Regions from separate parts of the Homo sapiens genome. Here region 1 is linked to region 2. The links are contacts of gene promoters, found by promoter capture Hi-C in blood cells and fetal thymus (Javierre and others, 2016). All regions are on one chromosome and are shown on one strand. The core of a region is centred on a gene start or on the middle of the fragment in contact, and the rest is flanking DNA. Distances in the headings are between cores, read along the strand shown.

What was found. Contacts are between HindIII fragments. The CHiCAGO score rates a contact against its expected background, and 5 or more counts as called.
Region 1: a contact is called between a fragment that was not itself captured here and the fragment with the promoter of POLR3A in region 2, in 2 of 17 cell types (total CD8 T cells and naive CD8 T cells). The highest score is 6.1, in total CD8 T cells.

Annotation. Positions count from the first base shown.
Region 1 is chr10:78,303,808-78,306,887 of GRCh38, reverse strand. The region is part of intron 1 of LOC124902468 (a long non-coding RNA gene); the gene reads right to left. Among named protein-coding and RNA genes, the nearest start is that of LINC00595, 38 kb to the right of the region's middle. The HindIII fragment of the contact is 863 bases long and covers 1,283-2,145 here.
Region 2 is chr10:78,027,906-78,030,984 of GRCh38, reverse strand. It overlaps POLR3A (RNA polymerase III subunit A), which reads left to right and starts at 1,470. Exons shown (of 31, transcript NM_007055.4): 1 at 1,470-1,621. The coding sequence starts at 1,578. RefSeq lists an enhancer at 1,301-1,550. The HindIII fragment of the contact is 13,008 bases long and covers 1-3,079 here.

The DNA.
Region 1 (3,080 bases), core at 465-2,964, 280 kb before region 2:
TAGACCAGCTCCTCCTCCTCCTGAACTCCAGTCTCGGTCTACAGTGCCACCACTCACCCAGGTGCCTCCCAGTAAAAGGGGGAGGCCTTCCTTCACCCTCTTTTCCACTCACTCATCAAGTTCTGTCTATACTTCCTCCTCAGTTTCTCTTTAATCTGTTCCCTGACTCCATCCTCACCGCCATGGGCTGATCTCCACACCATTGACTGAGAAGTCCCCTAGGTGACTACCCAGTCTTACATCTCCTCCCTGGAATTTCTTCCTAGCTTGCTGCAGGAGTGGCCCACGGTTGGAATTATGCCATTCTCCAAAGGCTCTAGGATCAAACAAGCTAGCACGGAATCCAGGGCTGGCTATTGGCGACCTGGTCTCTTTCCCCAACACCTTGAACTTCAAGTCTTCCATTCCTACACTATCCTGCACCTGCACTTCTGTACATCCCTATGCCTTAGCACTGACCTTCACCTGGAGTATCTCAACCCGCCACTGCCTTCTCTACCTGGCTCCCTCCTATACCTCCCTAACAATGCAACTCAGGTGTCAACAACTCCAAAAGACTTTCCAACACTCTCATCTGGATGAGATGCCTTTCGTTCATTCATTCATTCATTCGTTTACTTCAGTAGGCATTTAATTGATTTTCCATTTGTCAAGCTGTTAGCTAGGTACCAGGGATACCAAGATGAACTGAACACAAGTCATTGCCCTCTAGGGACTCACTATCCAAGTATTTGTTATTTAAAATATAGTCCTGAACCAGCACCATTAGCATCACCAGGGAGCTTGTTAAAAATACAGAGACACCAGCCCAGACCAGCTGAATCTGCATTTGGAAAAGAGCCCCAAGTGGTTCATGTGCCTGATAAAGCTTGAGAAGCATTGGTCTGGGTGGTATGTAAACAGAGAAATATGACAAATGAGGTTAAGTGCAAAATCAAGGCAATATATGCAGGGTGCTCTAAGCAGATCATGAGAGAGAGGTAACAACTGAATATAAAGGGAGGCTGGAGGGTCTGGATAGGTGAGCTCAAGACAGAAAGCAGAGTTGGAATTGTGGGGAAGGGGATTTCCAGGCAGAGAGTACAGCTTGGGCAAAGGCATGGAGGGGAGAAAATGTGTATGATAGGTGGGAGTGAAGGGTCCACTGGCTGCTAAATGTGAGGTCTGGCAGACACAGGACGGTGAGAGAAAAAGCACACATCCAGCTTTACTTCCTAAAATTTCACCCTAGACCCATGGCTATCCTTTCAGCCACCCACAGTGAATGCCAGGTCATGAAGCTTGGATGTGCACCTTAAGAGTGGAGTGACACCATGTGCATTTCAAAGGCAGCAATGAAACTGGATTTAAGTTCGAGGAGCCTGCAGCCTGGGAACCTGGCTAGGGGACACAAGTGTGCAGACCAGAGGTGACACCAAACCAAACCAGAGCAGAGGCACCCTGGGTGAGAGGAGAGCGCAGACTCCAGAGATATTGGGGAGGTCAAATTGACAGGACTGAATGTGTGGAAGATGCAAAGAGAGGAGCAGGAGTAATTCTCAGCATCCTGTCCTGGGTTGGTGAAAGTACAAACCAACCAAGGTGGGAGCAGCGGAAGGAAGAACCAGCTAAAGTTAAAAAGCACTGGTATTGACTGAGCACCGGATCTGTGTTGGGCACCACACAGATTGCTTTGTGTAAATTTCCTCAATTAATCCTCACTGGGCAATCCTCAAAGCAGGTACTATTATGGTTCTCAGTTTGCAGAGGAGGACACTGAAGGCACAGAGGGCAATTACTTGTCCAGGGTCACACAGGGAGGGAGAAGGAGAGCTGGGATCTGAGCTCAGGCTATACCCACTTTGGACACCCCACCTGAGGTCACCCCACTTCACAGACTGGCTTTGGACATGCTGAGAGTCAAGGACATGCCAGATTTCCAGTGGAGAAGAATAAGTGAGACAGGCGCTCAGGTGAGCCACTGGGCAGGGTGTCAGCCCTCAGAGGTAGCCAGAGCCCTTGAGTGGATGAGATGATGCAGGAGTAAGGGGCACCAGGACTGGTGGGCAGTGGGTGACACTAACATCCACATAGCTCCCCACTGCCTCTTGGGCTGCCACTCGCTAGTTTAGCCAGAGCCTGACATCATGCAGACACCCAGAAGCTTCAGGAACTGGCCTCTCCCTCAGTGAACCAGGCGTCCCCACCAGGCCAGAGGCTGAGAGGAACAATATCAGAGAGGGGAGACAGATGTGCCAGAGCCAGGCAGGAGCCAGCTTCAGGGGCACCTTAAAGTAGAGGAACCCTGCTCCCCCTCCCACACTTCAGCTACAGTGATTGCAACCCCATCTGCACTTTCCAACTAGGTGGTAATATCATTACTCCCAAGCCGCCATCTTCTCAACTATAAGATGGAAGCACTAGCGCTCTGCTCTCGGAGCTGTCAGCAGAACCACACGTGGTTCTGCTGTGGTGAACCACGTCCTTGCGTGAAGAGGGTACTTTGCAGACTGCAGAGGGATTCCTTATGGCTGGCAGCACCCCCCCCCCCAACATCATACAGTGGAGAGGATCTCCTTGCTGTGGACATCAGGGCTAAAGCTAGTTAGCCCAGCTCCAAAGTCAGGGCTAGGGCTGAGGCTCCACGTGGGAAATCCTGGCTAGGGAAGAAGGAACCAGCATGGGGAGGGGGCCTTTGGGTGGAGGTAGGGGAACTTTAATCACAGACTGAGGGATACCCTGCAGCTCAGCCCCAGCGCATTGTGATAAGCTGGGAGTATGCCTTAATTTTCCCGAGCTTCTGATTTTGCAAAAGAAGCCAGAAATCCAGATCTATAGGTGAAATCTCCAGGTTTTTTATGTAGTTTCTCAAACGCAACTAATTTATAAGTAGTGTAAACACTGGGGAAGAGGGGTACCTAGTCCACACTAGATCCTGTCTCAGATCTAAATTAGGCGCTTTGTCCCTCCCTCAACCTTTGGCAAGAACAAGGGCATCACTTGCTGTGCCTGTGAGTGTATATATAGACATGCCCATGGGTGTTCCTATATTTGAGTGTGTAAGCAGTGCATGGCTGCGCGAGTCCACACGTGATGCGTGT
Region 2 (3,079 bases), core at 221-2,720:
CACCTTGGCCTCCCAAAGTGCTAGGATTACAGGCGTGAGCCACCACGCCTGGCTGCCTACACAACTTTAAATGGTGAAAGCTAGACTCCCATGATGGCACTGTGATTTCATAACTTTTGCTCTTAACCTCTAGATAAGTCACACACGATCCAACCCTTGTTGGTATAATATTGTAAACATCAGAGCCGGGTGTGGTGGCTCACACCTGTAATCCTATCACTTTGGGAGACTGAGGCGGGCGGATCACGAGGTCAGGGATTCGAGACCAGCCTGGCCAACATAGTAAAACCCCGTCTCTACTAAAAATACAAAAATTAGCTGGGCGTGGTGGCGGGCGCTTGTAGTCCCAGCTACTCGGGAGGCTGAGCCAGGAGAATCGCTTGAACCCGGGAGGCGGAGGTTGCGGTGAGCCGAGATTTCGCCACTGCACTCCAGTCTAGGCGACAGAGCGAGACTCCGTCTCAAAAAAAAAAAAAAAAAAAAAACAAAAAAAACCCATAATGTTGACTATATATATATATATATATATATATATATAGTCAACATTATTTCATGATTAAGTGATGGAGTACCGAAATGAGTTAGAAAAACCTGATATGCCTCGTTTGTCTGTGACATTGTGTTTTGCTAGTGAGGATCCATGGCGTCTGAAAATGAGATAGCGTCCCTTCTTAAAAATTGAAAGTTGTTAAACACTTTTGTTAAGTTCTGTTTTGAGTTTCTCACAAATAATGAGGACTTAGTTCTAATTCTAAGCGCTAAGCCCTGTGGTGATGTGATTTCCTTGCTAGGCTCATGCACTAATATATCACACTAGGATCACCTCCCACAAGTTCTCACAGACTGTAGACAACTTATTTCAAGACATGAATGATCTTTACTTTCCATTCTCCCTTTTCTTCTGTAGATTACCATGGCTGTTTTCACTCTAACAGATTTTCAACTGTTTTTGTAATCAATAATGTAAGTTTAATTCTTCCCCCCTCCCTCCAAATAACTTCATGAACTGGAGGCACATGTGCGCCCATATTTTCCGCTCTGTTTTCCTTTGTTGGTCCTCCACAGATAGTGCCCTCTGTTGGATGGGCCGGTTCATTTTAGCTTCCACCTTCCCTTAAAACAATTAGAAGCTCTTAATTTAGATGGTACTGATGTTAATGATGATGATTTTCCATTTTATGCAAGTTTTGGCCCTCTGCTTGTCTAAAAGCCTTGAGGCAAAGAGTTATATGCAGTTTCTCTGCGGGTGTCTGATTACGTGGAGAAATTGACCAGAAATGGGATTTTTAAAATACAGCACACGCCTCGGTGCGGCTTCCAGTAAGCGCCACCAGGTGACGGTGCGGGGAAAGGGAAAAAAAAAAAAAAAAAAGGCATGCCGGAAGTCTCTCTTGACAGACAGACGCGCGGGCGAGTAGCGGAAGAGGAAGCGGACACGTGGGACACTCTACGGTGGCCGAGAGGATGCCGCAGATGTGTTAGCGGCGAGTCCAGAAGCAGCCCCAGGAGGTGCTGGGGGCATCGTTTCTCTAATCTGGCCTCCCGAGTGCCAAGGAGGCGTCCCGGCAGCGGTCATCATGGTGAAGGAGCAGTTCCGGGAGACGGATGTGGCCAAGAAAATGTAAGACGGAGTAAGAGTGGCCAAAGGGCTGAGAAATAGGGCAAGGGGTCCGAGGTCAGCGGTCCCGGGTCTTGCAGGGTCAGAGATGGGGTGCAATGGGAAGGGGAGGGCCAGTAGTCCATAGGTGTGACCAGCGCCCAGAACTACCAGCGTTGGTCAAAGAGCATTGGTCAGGCTGAGGGGATTTCAGCACCTCGAGAGGTCCCTGGACTTGGGCGGAGAAGTCGGAGTGGCCTGAGCCTTAATGATTTGTGCACCCTGGGCCAAAGCTCGCATTCTCCTGAAGTCATACAATGATCCCTGTTCTTCAGCGAACTATCCCCTGCTGCAGCGAGGGGAGCAATCTGGGGCGGGGACTGTCTCTAATTCTGTCAGCCGCAGAGCGTCTGACACGGAGGCAGTAGTTGCTTACCAAAAGGATGGGGTTGCCCACTAGAAAGCTGTACCACAGGCCGACGGATGGCAGTGTCAGAAATAAAGCTGCTATCCGGACTTTTGCCTTCAGAAATACGTTATTAGGCGGTGGCTCCTTCTTAGAGTTCTCGGTAAGAAAGTGAATCCAGCCGGGCGCGGTGGCTTACTCCTGTAATCCCAGCACTTTAGGAGGCCGAAGCGGGTGAATCTCCTGAGCTCAGGAGTTTGAGACTAGCCTGGGCAACGTGGCGAAACCCCGTCTCTATCAAAAATACAAAAATTAGCAGGCGTGGTGGCGCGCCCTTGTGGTCCCAGCTACTCGGGAGGCTGAGGCCGAAAAATCACTTGAGCCTGGGAGGCAGAGGTTGCAGTGGGCAACCTCCTGCATTCCACCCTGAGTGACAGAGTGAGACGGTGTCTCAAAAAAAAAAGTGAATTCATCATTCTTACAGCAGACACTGAGGAGGATACTGCGCGTTATTCCCAGTGTTGGACGTTAAAGATACGGTCTGAATAAAACTTTTACTGCCTAATCTAGTTGGAGAAGGTACACAAGTCAACACTGGGTACGACAAGTGCAATGACAAGGGTAGGTCCAGGGGGTTTTGAGAGCACATAATGGGTCCAGGCAAAAGAAAGCAGACCAAACTGCTTTTTTCAAGGAGCAGACCTGAGGGAGAGAACACAGGTGATCAGAAGGAAGCAGAAGACTTGAAGCTGTGTTAAGAAGTCATCTTGTAGGCAGTGAGGAACCTTTGAAGGATTTTCAACAGGAGAGTATCTTGATAAGAGTTCTCCTTCTGGAAAATCTCTTGATTCATGGTGGAAAGAATTAGAGGTCGAGAGACCTTGAGACGGATATACAGAATGCCTTGCTTGGGCAGCTGTGTGGATGGTTGCCATTCACTAGAACAGGTGTCTTACCTAGGTGAATGCAGCATTCTCCCATGTGGTAGCTCTACATCGACACTGGCCCTTCACACCCACCTGTACACCTGCGCCCAGTCAGATATAATACATTCTCACAAAACAGAGAAAGTGCTT